Linked DNA regions of Homo sapiens: region 2 is linked to region 1. The links are contacts of gene promoters, found by promoter capture Hi-C in blood cells and fetal thymus (Javierre and others, 2016). All regions are on one chromosome and are shown on one strand. The core of a region is centred on a gene start or on the middle of the fragment in contact, and the rest is flanking DNA. Distances in the headings are between cores, read along the strand shown. Region 1 holds the start of GANAB (glucosidase II alpha subunit). Region 2 has its middle 17 kb from the start of SCGB1A1.

Region 1 (6,275 bases), core at 1,891-4,390:
ACTAAAAATACAAAAAAAAAATTAACAGGGCATGGTGGCACACGCCTGCAGTCCCAGCTACTCAGGAGGCTGAGGCAGGAAAATTGCTTGAACCCGGGAGGCAGAGGTTGCAGTGAGCCAAGGTTGTGCCACTGCATTCCAGCCTGGGCGACACAGCGAAACACCACCTAGAAAAAAATAGATATATACAAAAATTAGCCAGGCGTAGTGGCACATGCCTATAATCCCAGCTACTGGGGAGGCTGAGGAACGAGAATGGTTTGAGCCTGGGAGTCAGAGGTTGCAGTGAGCTGAGATCGCACCACTGCACTCTAGCCTGGGTGACAAAGTGTGACTCTGTCTCAAAAACAAGAAAAAAAAGTTGCCCAGGCTTGTCTTGAACTTCTAGGCTAAAGCCATCTTTCCACCTTGGCCTTCCAAAATGCTGGAATTACAGGCGTGAGCCACTGCACCCACCCTGGATACCGCATTTTATTTTTAATTTTTTTTGAAACTGAGTTTCACTCTTGTTGCCCATGCTGGAGTGCAATGGCACGATCTTGGCTCACCGCAACCTCTGCCTCGCGGGTTCAAGCAATTCTCCTGCCTCTGCCTCCCAAGTAGCTGGGATTACAGGCGCGTGCCACCACACTCGGCTAATTTTGTATTTTTAGTAGAGACGGGGTTTCTCTGTGTTGGTCAGGCTGGTCTCGAACTCCCAACCTCAGGTGATTCGCCAGCCTCGGCCTCCCAAAGTGCTGGGATTACAGGTGTGAGCCATCGTGCCCGGCTGACACCACATTTTAAACATGCTCTCCCAGTGACACTGATATGGGCAGAATACGAGCATACTCTGAGAAAGTGTTTCAAACTGGGGGTGGGAGGGTTCTTCTAAGCAATAAAGTTTTACAACCAGCCAGGCACAGTGGCTCACGTCTATAATCCTAGCACTTTGGGAGGTCAAAAAGGGAAGATTGGGCAACACAGCAAGACCTCGTCTCTACTTAAAAAAAAAAAAGAGTAGCAAGGCATGGTGGCAGGTGCCTGTAGTCCCAGCTAATCAGGAGGCTGAAGCCGGAGGACTGCCTGAACGCAAGAGTTTGAGGCTGCATGAGCTACGATTGCACCACTGCTCTCCAGCCTGGGCCACAGCACAAGACTCTGTCTCAAAAAAGTAAATTAATTAAGACTGGTCAATGGGGTGTCTACTAAAAATACAAAAATTAGCTGGGCACGGTGGCACACGTCTGTAATCCCAGGACTCGGGAGGATGAGGCAGGAGAATCGCTTGAACTCGGGAGGTGGAAGCTGGAGTAAGCCGAGATTGCACCCCTGCACTCCATCCTAGGCAACAGAGCGAGACCCTGTTTCAATAAGTAAACAAACAAATAAATAAATAAATAAAATTTGACAACCTATAATAAGGTAACTAAAGACAGGGTCTATTATACACATTGTATCTAGTTATCTAGCATTAGCTTCAGCATCTGCTTGAAAGCTAAAAGAAAATTACCAGAAATGAGATCACAGAGTGTACTATGATCTCATCACAGGACTCTCCTCCAGCTCCAGAGGAATGTACGAAACAACTGTTCCACAGCAGGCCAGACAGAAAAATGAAGAAAACACTAGGCACTGTGGTTTAATAGGCCAAGCAGAATAAATGCTACCACAAAACTCCATAGCAAGGCATGCGGCACAGGTCCTGCAGTGAGTGACCTGAGTGACTGCAACAGGCACTCTTGGCCACTGACCCACGTCCACCTGCCAAAAGCAGCAGTAAATAGAAGTACAGTGAGTTGAGGCCGGGCGCGGTGGCTCACGCCTGTAATCCCAGCACTTTGGGAGGCCGAGGCGGGTGGATCACGAGGTCAAGAGATCGAGATCATCCTCACCAACATAGTGAAACCCCGTCTCTACTAAAAATACAAAAAAATAGCCAGGCGTGGTGGCGGGTGCCTGTAGTCCCAGCTACTCGGGAGGCTGAGGCAGGAGAATGGCGTGAACCCAGGAGGCGGAGCTTGCAGTGAGCCGAGATCTCGCCACTGCACTCCAGCCTGGGCAACAGAGCGAGACTCTGTCTCTCAAAAAAAAAAAAAAAAGACGTACAGTGAGTTAAATACCCTCTGGGGCCCTATTTGCACAGTCTGTAAAATTGGTTCGGAAAGATGCCAATGGAGATAGGATTCCTAAAGCATCTTTCAGATATGACCTGTTGGAGGGCCCTAAGGAATTCACGGCGGCCTTGACCACCCCAAGAGAGGTGTTCATAGGCCAAAGTCAGGAATAAGCTGCAGGGCAAGTTGCACGCATTTATTGTTTCAGATCACAGGCTCCGAGGGAACTGAGTTTATGATCCACGCTTTCTTCATCGCTTTGGAGAGTACACGCCTACCCCACCCCAGTATATCCGTTAGGTCCTAGTAAACATTTGTGGCACTGGTGATATGTTTCGAATCTTTTTTTTTCCCCAGTAATATAAACCCGAGAGCGTGGACCAAGCCATTCGATTACATGTTGTGTTTGAGCAACACCATCCACGCCGTGAGCTTACTGGACCCTGGGCCGTGCCCAGCGACCGTGGACACTGAACTAAGCCAGAGCTGGTGCTCACGTGAAGACAAGGGCAGAGGAGGATTCGGAGCTCTACAGGGTAGAGCCAGAAGGGTAGTACAGGCTTAACTGCTGGCCCGGTGCTTCCAGCTCAGCCGAGGGGCCGCGGGGCCGCAGGCTGCATTCCCCGAGGCCAGGCCGCATCTTTTCCCCCGCCCCGACGACCCCGCGCACTGCAGGAAGGGGGCGGCGACGTTGACCGCCGCAAGCAGCCAAAGGAGGGCGGCGGCTGAGAGCGGCCAAGACCAAGAAAGACGCACAGCTGTGGCTTTACTAAACCGCCGGGCGGGAGCCCGGAGCCCCACAGGCAAGGCCCCCAGCGTCGCTCGGATCTACCACGGGGAGACCGGAGGCGTCTGAGGCCGCCTCCAGAGGAACAAAGGTTCCTCACGAGGCCGGGGGTGGCAGAGTGTCAAGAGACACACAGGAAGGAGTGGAATGGGACTTGGGGGATCTGGGGGCGTCCCGGGCGCGCCCCCAGATTCCGGGCTCCTCACCGCCTCCTACGCGCCGCCACTGCCGCTACCGCCGCCATCTTGTGCAGAGTTTGCTCCTTGACCCCAAACCTCCCGCCCCATCGCGCGCGCTCAGCCACGTATCCTAGTTCCCGCCCCTTCCGGCCTTATGATTGGTTCGACCTGAGCGCCGCCGGGCAGCTGTCTCATTGGTAGAGTGCGCACTCCAAATTATCGCAGGGGGCGGGGCTTCAGGCCAGGGGCGGGAACGTCCAGAGCCAGGCGCTGTCAGACTTTGCACGCTCTCAGCATGACAGAAGCACTGGACTGGTTTTCTCAAGTTGGCAAATTTTATTTAGAAAAAAAAAAGTGGGAGAGAAAAAAGTGACAGCGCTCTTTAGACCAAGGACTTAGAAGAGAAACCTCCACCCTTCCGGAGCACGTTAGTCCCTTCCCTCTCTCACTGCTCAACCTCCCTGGGCTTCCAGAGCAAGAAAAGGCTACGTCCCCTGTCGAAGGAGAGTGGACGGTGAAGGTGCCTGGAAACGGCCAGAGAAAAGACCTAGGCGGTCGATGTTGCGGTGGAGGACACTGTGCAGCACAGCCAGATGGGGTCCACCCTCACCTCCACCCTCCCTGGAGAAGTCCCGAATGAAGCGACCCCGCTCTGATTGGAAGATGAACTTCTGAGGCAAGGGCCCATGCTCCCGGAGAAAACCCCAGACACTGAGCAGCAGCAGACGCACCTCGAAAGGTGCCAGTTGGCTAAATACTTCATGCATATTACCCAGGGCCGGAGGCAGGAGGCTTCCCTCAGCCATGACAGCCACTAAGGTGCAGGATGCCTCCAGGTGCCAGGGGGAGTGGGTCGTGTCAGGGTGGCGAGAGGCTTCCCAATGGCCCAAGAGGGCGGCCAGCAGCCCCCGAAGCAGCACGGAACAGTAGCACAGGGCTGGGGGTGCAGCTGCTACCAGCTTTAACAGCTCAAAGAGCAGGGGCTGTTCGCGGAAGCGCCGGCCAATGCGGAGATCCCGCTCCACGGTGGCCCGGGCGTGTTCCTCGGGGGGCCAGGCCAGCTCTGCACCAGCTGCATCGGGACACACACTCTCCACCAAGGTCACTGCCACTGCTTTGGCTGCCTCTGGACTCAAGATGGGTGCCCCCCAGCATTCCCCACATTCAGTGCCCCCTGGGGCACTGCAGCAGTGAACCAGGAGGCTGAGGAGGCTCTGGGTGTTATAGATCACTTCCTGCTGATTTCGTGACTGGACAAACTTGGGTGGCTTTAAGCCACGGCCGATGACTCCAGCATGGAAAACTGACCAAATCCCTCCAGGACCTGGCACAGCTGCAGTGTGCCTCCGGTTAGTGTCCAACAGGGAGGCAGAAGCCAAAGAAGCTGAAACAACTGAGAGAGTCTCATTGTCCCCATCTACTTGCCCACCAAACAGTTCTGTGTTGCCTCGATGTAAGGCTCCTTCAACCAGCAGCTGCAGGACAGCCTTGAGCCCAGCTGGGGATGTCTGAGACAGGCGGGTGAGAAGCTGACAGGCTGAGGCCACACCTGGGGGTCCATGCAGCCTCAGAGAGGCAAAGAAGCGGTGCACCCCAGCCCTTACCAGTCCCAGGAGCTGGGAGGGGGATAAGGCTTCAGAAGGAAAGGGACAAATGGCCAGGAGAGAGGCAGCAGCTTCAGCTACTTCCTCCTCAGGATGTAGCAGGAGAGGAGCCAGGTCAGACAGATGGGCTGAGGCAGATTCCCCAAAGTGCGCCCCTAGGGCTGCAGGGCCCTCGCCACCCTGCTGTTCCCACCCTACTAGCAGTGCCAAGTTGCGCAGGAACCGGGCCGTGAAGGGAGGCTGTAATGTCCCTGCATGCACCCGAGCCAGACAGCTTCGGAAAGCCAGGGGCAGGAGGCCAGAGAGGCTGACCACTAGCCCTGCATATAACTGGGTGGCCAAACTCAACTCTTCAGGGCTTCGGGCTCGGCTCAGCAGATGGCCCAAGGCCTCAGGTCCACAGCTAGGCCGGGTATAGACAGACAGCAGGCCCAAGAGCTGGTGCTGCCAGAGGAAGCGCTTCCGTTCCAATCGTAACGTCTCTCCACACAGCTCTCCAACATGGTTTTTGAGCGCATCTAAAAAGGGCACCAAGCGGGGAGGTGGGGGCGGGCCTAGCACCCCTTCCCCAGGAGACCCTCCCCGGTGATGAACCAGTTTTTGCAGGTGCAGCAGCAGCAGCTGGATTAGCCGGTCACAAGCCTCACGCACGGTGTCTGGCACAGCCAGGCCCTGGGTGGTAATGACCGAAGCAGGCATAGCTGTGTCCACCAGGAACTGCAGCAAGCGGTAGGCACCTGCCCCAGAGGCCTGGCTCACCAGGTGCACAGCCAGGTTCAACATGTTGTCCAGCTCCTCTCGGGGGAATCCTTGAAGGTGTTGCTGCAGCTGGCTCAGCACAGCTGGGGGCTTGAGGCAATCCACAAGCTCTCCAGAGACAGTGCCCAGCAAAGCTGGTGACATGACTGCCAGCTGCAGTAGGAACGGAACCGTGGCCTGAAGGGAGGGGTCCCCACTGCGGCCTCCAGATCCCCCTGCCAGGCTATCATGGAACATTCGCAGGAGCTCCCGTCGGATGCTATCTCCGTGGCGGGAGGCCAGGTGACCTAGGATGCCTACAACTGAGGCAATCTTGGGCACCCGTTTCTCCGCAGGAATGGCAGGAGATCCAGGGAAGGGGTCTGTAGAGGGGGTCTGAGAAGAGCTTCCACCACTACTGCCAGCTCCACCTCCAGCCCCACCATGGACACAAAAGTCCTTAAGGCCACAGGAGAGAACCCGGGAAATGATGGTGCCAGGAAAAGAGGAGCCAATATGTGCCACAACCCAGTCAAAGTGTGGAGAATGCTGAACAGAGGTATCCAGCAAGGCATCCACACACGCATCTGGGCAGCTACCAATGAGAGCCGAGAGGCACTGCACATAGATGTCCATTAATGTACGCGTGGCCCTACAACCCATCCACAGCTGTAGCAGTTCATTAAGAGCGCCAGTAGCGTGGGGAACACGCTGGTGCTGGCCTGAGTACGTGCTGCTCAGTTGCCCCATGAGGTCAATGGACCATGCACTAATCACAGGTGCCCAGGCCTTTGGGTTGGCCCGGATAAACTCAGACAGCACCTGCTGCACTTCCTGAACCACATCCTCTAGACCAGGTCCACCAGCAGGG
Region 2 (6,013 bases), core at 649-3,148, 210 kb before region 1:
ATAGAATAAGAATTTCAGACTGACCCCCAGTGACAGGAAACTTTGAAAAGGCGTGTGCCTGAAGAAACGTATCGATTGGCATGTTAAAAAATACATGTATTGGCCGGGCATGGTGGCTCATCCCTGTAATCCCTGCACTTTGGGAGGCCGAGGCAGGTGGATCACTTGAGGTCAGGAGTTTGAGACCAGCCTGGCCAATGTGGTGAAATCCCGTCTGTACTAAAAAAAAAAAAAAAAAAAAAAAATACAAAAATTAGCCAGGCGTGGTGGCAGGCCTGTAATCCCAGCTACTGAGGCCGAGGCACGAGAATCACTTGAACTCAGGAGGTGGAGGTTATAGTGAACTGAGATCATACTACTGCACTCTCCAGACTGGGTGACAGAGTGAGACACTGTCTCAAAAAAAAAAAGATTACATTTCTCCTTTTTTAGATAAATAAAGAGGAAAGAGAAAGGGGAGGGGGAGCAAGGGGTGTAAGAGGGAGAAAGAAAAGAGAGAAAGGAGAGAACGCGCGGGGGTTCTCGGTCATGTGGAGGCAGCAGTCATGTGCTGACTCTGAAAACTGAAAAAAAAAAAAAAATAGTGACAGCAAGCTGCTGCCTGTGGCCAACTCTCCCAGGGATTCTCACAACGCCAGGGAAGGGAACAGAGAAAACCACAAAGGTTGACACAAGAACAGATGCTTGATAAATGTTTATTGGATAAACGAGCGAAGGATAATCACCTGAGCACCATAGTTGCCAAAGCCCCCTCTAGTCCCAAACCTAAGCCCACACTCTGTCCCCTTGCAAGTAAAGAAATGCACCAAGCAGGGCTTATGCAGCAGCCCTCGGTCTGGCCTGGCTGGAGCTATAAACATGCATGCTCCGAAAAGCCGCCTCGCGGAAGGTATTCCTTTAACTGCAGGTGTTTGTTGCCCTTGGCACAGCAATATGTAATTTCCCATTTTTAGAACAATGCTCCAAAGAACGGTCACAAAAACAACCTTAAGAGGGGGTGGTTTTCTTCCTGGCCGCTTCTACAGTCCTGTAAAACAACAACAAAGAGATTTATATTCAACACACTATTTGCATCTCTCCATAAAATCAGAAGATGGTTCGTTAACTTTGCACCAACTGAAAGAAGGTCCCCCCACTCCTTGCTAGGGCATCCAAACAAATGCTTGCCTCTGGAAGGGATAGATTTGGAAAGGATCCTGCTGTTGGGTCTCTTTTGGTCTTGCCACGCCTCCCTCTGTGTGGTTTCTGTGCGGCAAGGGTGGAAAGGAAGCTTGCATAAAGCCCGAGTCTGTCCTTTTGGTGCCCCCCATACAAGCCCGAGACCAGAAGAGGACAGTGTGTTCCCAAGAACATTCAAATAACAGAGGAAGGTAGGAACCGTGAAAACAGCTGCCACCTCCAGCCTCAGCCATTAAGAAATCCCTTTCATTATCATCTCCAAACTGACTTTCTCTCTTCCCTTTCCTCTTCATGAACCCTTTCTGCTTCATGAACCCAAGCAACTGGCTTTGAGACTTCATGGCCCTTCACCTTCCCTCCCTGTCGTCTCCCAGAGCCTAACTACTACATCTTCTGTCCCAGCCCAGTGCCTCCTCCCCGAGTCACACCCAACTCATCCCCATCGGACTCCCATGAATGCGCAGGTTGTCCTCTCATGGGCCTCCTGGCCTGGTCTCTCTCACCTCCCACGTGGGCCTGCATGCCCCAGGCTTCATCTTACACCTCCTGCGCTCAAGAAAGTTCAGCAACTCCTTTTCCAACAGAAACAAATCCAGCTTTCGGGCCAGGCGCAGTGGCTCACGCCTGTAATCCCAGCACTTTGGGAGGCCGAGGCAGGCGGACCTCCTAAGGTCAGGAGTTCAAGACCAGGCTGACCAACATGGTGAAACCCTGCCTCTACTAAAAAGAAATACAAAAATTAGCCGGGTGTGGTGGCACACACTGTAATCCCAGCTACTCAGGAAACTAAGGCAGAAGAATCACTTGAATCCGGGAGGCAGAGGTTGCACAGTGATCCAAGATCCTGTCACTGCACTTCAGCCTGGACAACATGGCAAGACCCTGTCTCAAAAAAAAAAAAAAAAAAAAAAGCCAGCTTTCTTAATGGGACCTCATCTGGAACCAGGCCTCCTTTCCTACTTTATCTTCTACTAGTCCCTACACAAGTTTCAAGCACCAACCAAAATCACCTGCTCACCCTTCCCAAACTTTACCTTGGCTCCTAAAAACTACCTCCTGCCCTCCCCCTAATTGAGAATGACCTTCCTGGTCTTCTCTCTGTGACTAAATCCTACCCATTTTTGAAGACTCAGCCAAATAATACCACCATCTGACCACTCTAGTTCAAAATGCCCCCCTTTCCTTGCTGAAGTCCTGCAATTCTGCCCCATTTATTCACTATATGTTACACTTTGTGAAGAAACCATTCACATAACTTCTTTCTTCCAAATGTGTGTTGAATTATTTAGAGGGCAAAGGTGCTAAGCCTCTTTAAGAGGCTTGGAAGGAATTAGGCACCAGGAAAGTGAAAGCTTTATTTATTTATTTATCTTTTTTTTTTCTTTTTGAGACGGAGTCTCGCTGTTGCCCAGGCTGGAATGCAGTGGCGCGATCTTGGCTCACTGCAGGCTCCGCCCCCCGGGGTTCCCGCCATTCTCCTGCCTCAGCCTCCCGAGTAGCTGGGGACTACAGGCGCCCGTCACCTCGCCCGGCTAATTTTTTTGTATTTTTAGTACAGACGGGGTTTCACCGTGTTAGACAGGATGGTCTCGATCTCCTGACCTCGTGATCCGCCCACCTCGGCCTCCCAAAGTGCTGGGATTACAGGCTTGAGCCACCGCACCCGGCCTATTTATTTATCTTTTTAAGAGATGGGGTCTTACTATATTGCTCAGGCTGGCCTTGAACTCCTGGACTCAAGCAATCCTCCTGCCTTGACCTCCCAAAGTGCTGGGATTGCAGGCTGGCCGCACCCAGCCAGTTTTGACATTTCTACACTACCTTTTATTGCACACTTGCTATGAACCTGTCGCTGAGCTGAGCACTTCTTACATATGACCGCATTTAACTCTCACAGTGAGACTAGAAGGGAAGTACCACTGTCACTTTTCACAGACCAGGAAACAAAGGCTTTGAGAAGTTAAATAACTACCCAAGAGCCTCACTGTTTAAAAGGAGCAGAGCTGGAGTTCAAGCCTGGCTCACAGTATTGACAGCTCTAGCCCATCCCCTTTCATTCTCAGCGAATTCACAACACAGAACAGTTAGGATGAACAGGGTGGGGAGGAAGTTGCAGGCTCTTTTCCTGATTGGAACAAATTCATGGAAAGGGTTCATAAAGGGGCTGGGCTTCCCAATTCATGTTTTTGTTTTGAAGAAGGTGGGGGAACTTGGGGTTCACACAATGAAGTTCTCTTTAAAGAATGGTGTCTGCAACATCTGATGCTCCGGGGGAGTAGCAGGCAACACAGAGAGCTTTGATGCTGTACCAAGATTCACTCTCAACATCCCAAGCCAAGTGGCAACAGTGCAGAATATGGCATTCAAGTCTAACTCCCACACTTACCAGCTGTGATACTCAGACAAGCTATTGTCCCTCTCTAAGCTTCAGTTTCCTCCTCTCTAACAAGAAAAGAATATCATTTTGACAGGTGGTTTGGATAGATTAAGGCAAATAATCTCTATAAAGCAACCAGGCACATATTGGGTGCTCCATAAATTATTATTGTTATTACTTCTCTTGGACATGAAAATCTGCATTTCTTTTCATTAAAAAAAAAAAAAAAGTATAGGCCGGGCGCAGTGGCTCACGCCTGTAATCCCAGCACTTTGGGAGGCCAAGGTGGGTGGATCACGAGGTCAGGAGATCGAGACCATCCTGGCTAACACGGTGAAACCCAGTCTCTACCAAAAATACAAAAAAAAATTAGCCGGGCATGGTGGCGGGCGCCTGTAGTCCCAGCTACTCGGGAAACTGAGGCAGGAGAATGGCGTGAACCCAGGAGGCGGAGCTTGCAGTGAGCCAAGATCGCGCCACTGCACTCCAGCCTGGGTGACTGAGCAAGACTCTGTCTCAAAAAAAAAAAAAGAAGTATAACATACATTCATCAGAGTACATAAAGCACACAATGGACAGCTTGATAATCATTTTCATAAATAGGCATTTCTATAACCACCACTCCAGGCCACATAAGGAATATTTCCAGCACCCCAAAACGTTCCCTCATGCACCCTCCCAATCCATATCCCCACCAGACAGAATCATGATTTGACTCATTATAGATCAGCTTTGCCTCTTTCTGAACCATATATTAATGGAATCAGAGCATATAATCTTTTCATCATTGCATAGTACTCTTATATGAATAGATCACCAATTTATTTCTCCAATCTTCTGTTGATGGGAATTTGGGGTGTTTCAGGTTTGGAGAAACTTCTTTGAACATTTTTGTACATACATTATTGTCAGCATAGGCACTCAAACCCCTCAGCTTTGTTTTGTTTTGTTTTGAGACGGAGTCTCACTCTGTCTGCCAGGCTGGAGTGCAATGGTGCAATCTCAGCCACTGCAACATCTGCCTCCTGGGTTCAAGTGATTCTCCTGCCTCAGCCTCCTGAGTACCTAGGATTACAGGCACTCATCTGCCACACTCAGCTAATTTTTTTTGTATTTTTAGTAGAGACGGGGTTTCACCATATTGGCAAGGCTGGTCTCGAACTCCTGACCTCAGGTTATCCACCCACCTTGGCCTCCCAAAGTGCTGGGATTACAGGTGTGAACCACCACGCCCAGCCCAAATCCCTTACCCAAATACTTAGGAGTAGAATTTCTGGGTTGTACAGCAGGCATATCTATAGCTTTAATATAATCTGCCAAACAATGTTCCCAGTGGCTGTACCTCTTCCACACTCCCCACAGCAATATGCAATAGTTCTAGTTGTTCCATATTCTCAGCAACACTTGGTATTGTCAGTCTTTTCATTTTAGCTATTATGGTGGGTGTGTAGTAGTATCTTTTTGTGGGAGTTTTGTGTGTCTATGTTGTTCTTTTTTTTTCTTTTGCATTCTGTCACCAAGGCCAGAGTGCAGTGGCATGATCATAGCTCACTGCAGCCTCAAACTCCTAGGCTCAAATGATCCTCCCACCTCAGTCTCCCAAATAACTGGGACTACAGGCTTGTGCCACCAGGCTCAGCTAATTTCCCAGCGCATTTGCATTTTCTGATGAATAATGATGTTGAGCACCTTTTCACAGTGTATTTGGCCATCTGGGTATCCTCTTTTGTTAGTGCCTGGTCAAGTCTTTTTCTTTCTCTCTTTTTTTTTTTTTTTTTCCTGAGACTGAGTTTTGTTCTGTCTCCCAGGCTGGAGTGCAGTGGTGTGATCTCGGCTCACTGCAACTCTGCCTCCCGGGTTCAAGCAATTCTCCTGCCTCGGACTCCCGAGTAGCTGGGATTACAGGTGCCTGCCACCACGTCCAGCTAATTTTTGTATTTTTAGTAGAGACAGGGTTTCACCGTGTTTATCAGGCTGGTCTCGAACTCCTGACAGGTGATCCACCTGCCTCGGCCTCCCACAGTGCTGAGATTACAGGCATGAGCCATCGCACCTGGCCTCTTTTTCTCATTTTTTTAATTGGGTCATTTTTAGTTTTCTTATTGATCTGCAGTACTTCAAATATTTTAGAAACGAATACTTTATCAGACATATGTATTGCAGATATATATCTTCTCCAGGTCTGAGGCTTGCCTTTTCATTTTTTTAATGGTGCCCTTGGATGAAGAGAGGATTTAATTTTGATAAAGTCCAATTCATCGATTTTTCTTCTGTGGTTAGTGCTGTTTGCATTCTGTTTTAGAAATGTTTGCCCATCCCTAAGGCCAGGAAGACCTTCTCTGTTCTCTGCTCCTTTTAGTCTTGCTTTATGTGGTATCTTCCTCTGGCGTGGAGACAACTGATTTGTTGTTATTTCAATGAGGAGCAAAGGTCTCATAGAAAAACTAATCATGACCG

What was found. The method cuts DNA at HindIII sites, captures the fragments that hold promoters and counts their contacts. A CHiCAGO score of 5 or more calls a contact.
Region 2: a contact is called between a fragment that was not itself captured here and the fragment with the promoter of GANAB in region 1, in 1 of 17 cell types (total B cells). The highest score is 7.2, in total B cells.

Annotation. Positions count from the first base shown.
Region 1 is chr11:62,643,473-62,649,747 of GRCh38, forward strand. It overlaps GANAB (glucosidase II alpha subunit), which reads right to left and starts at 3,141. Exons shown (of 24, transcript NM_198334.3): 1 at 3,090-3,141. The coding sequence starts at 3,127. It overlaps INTS5 (integrator complex subunit 5), which reads right to left. Exons shown (of 2, transcript NM_030628.2): 2 at 3,376-6,275. The coding sequence ends at 3,548. RefSeq lists enhancers at 1,340-2,147, 2,463-2,622 and a silencer at 3,233-3,312. The HindIII fragment of the contact is 15,573 bases long and covers 1-6,275 here.
Region 2 is chr11:62,432,865-62,438,877 of GRCh38, forward strand. It overlaps a transcript of AHNAK not described here. Among named protein-coding and RNA genes, the nearest start is that of SCGB1A1, 17 kb to the left of the region's middle. RefSeq lists enhancers at 1,209-1,710, 1,711-2,210. The HindIII fragment of the contact is 1,261 bases long and covers 1,269-2,529 here.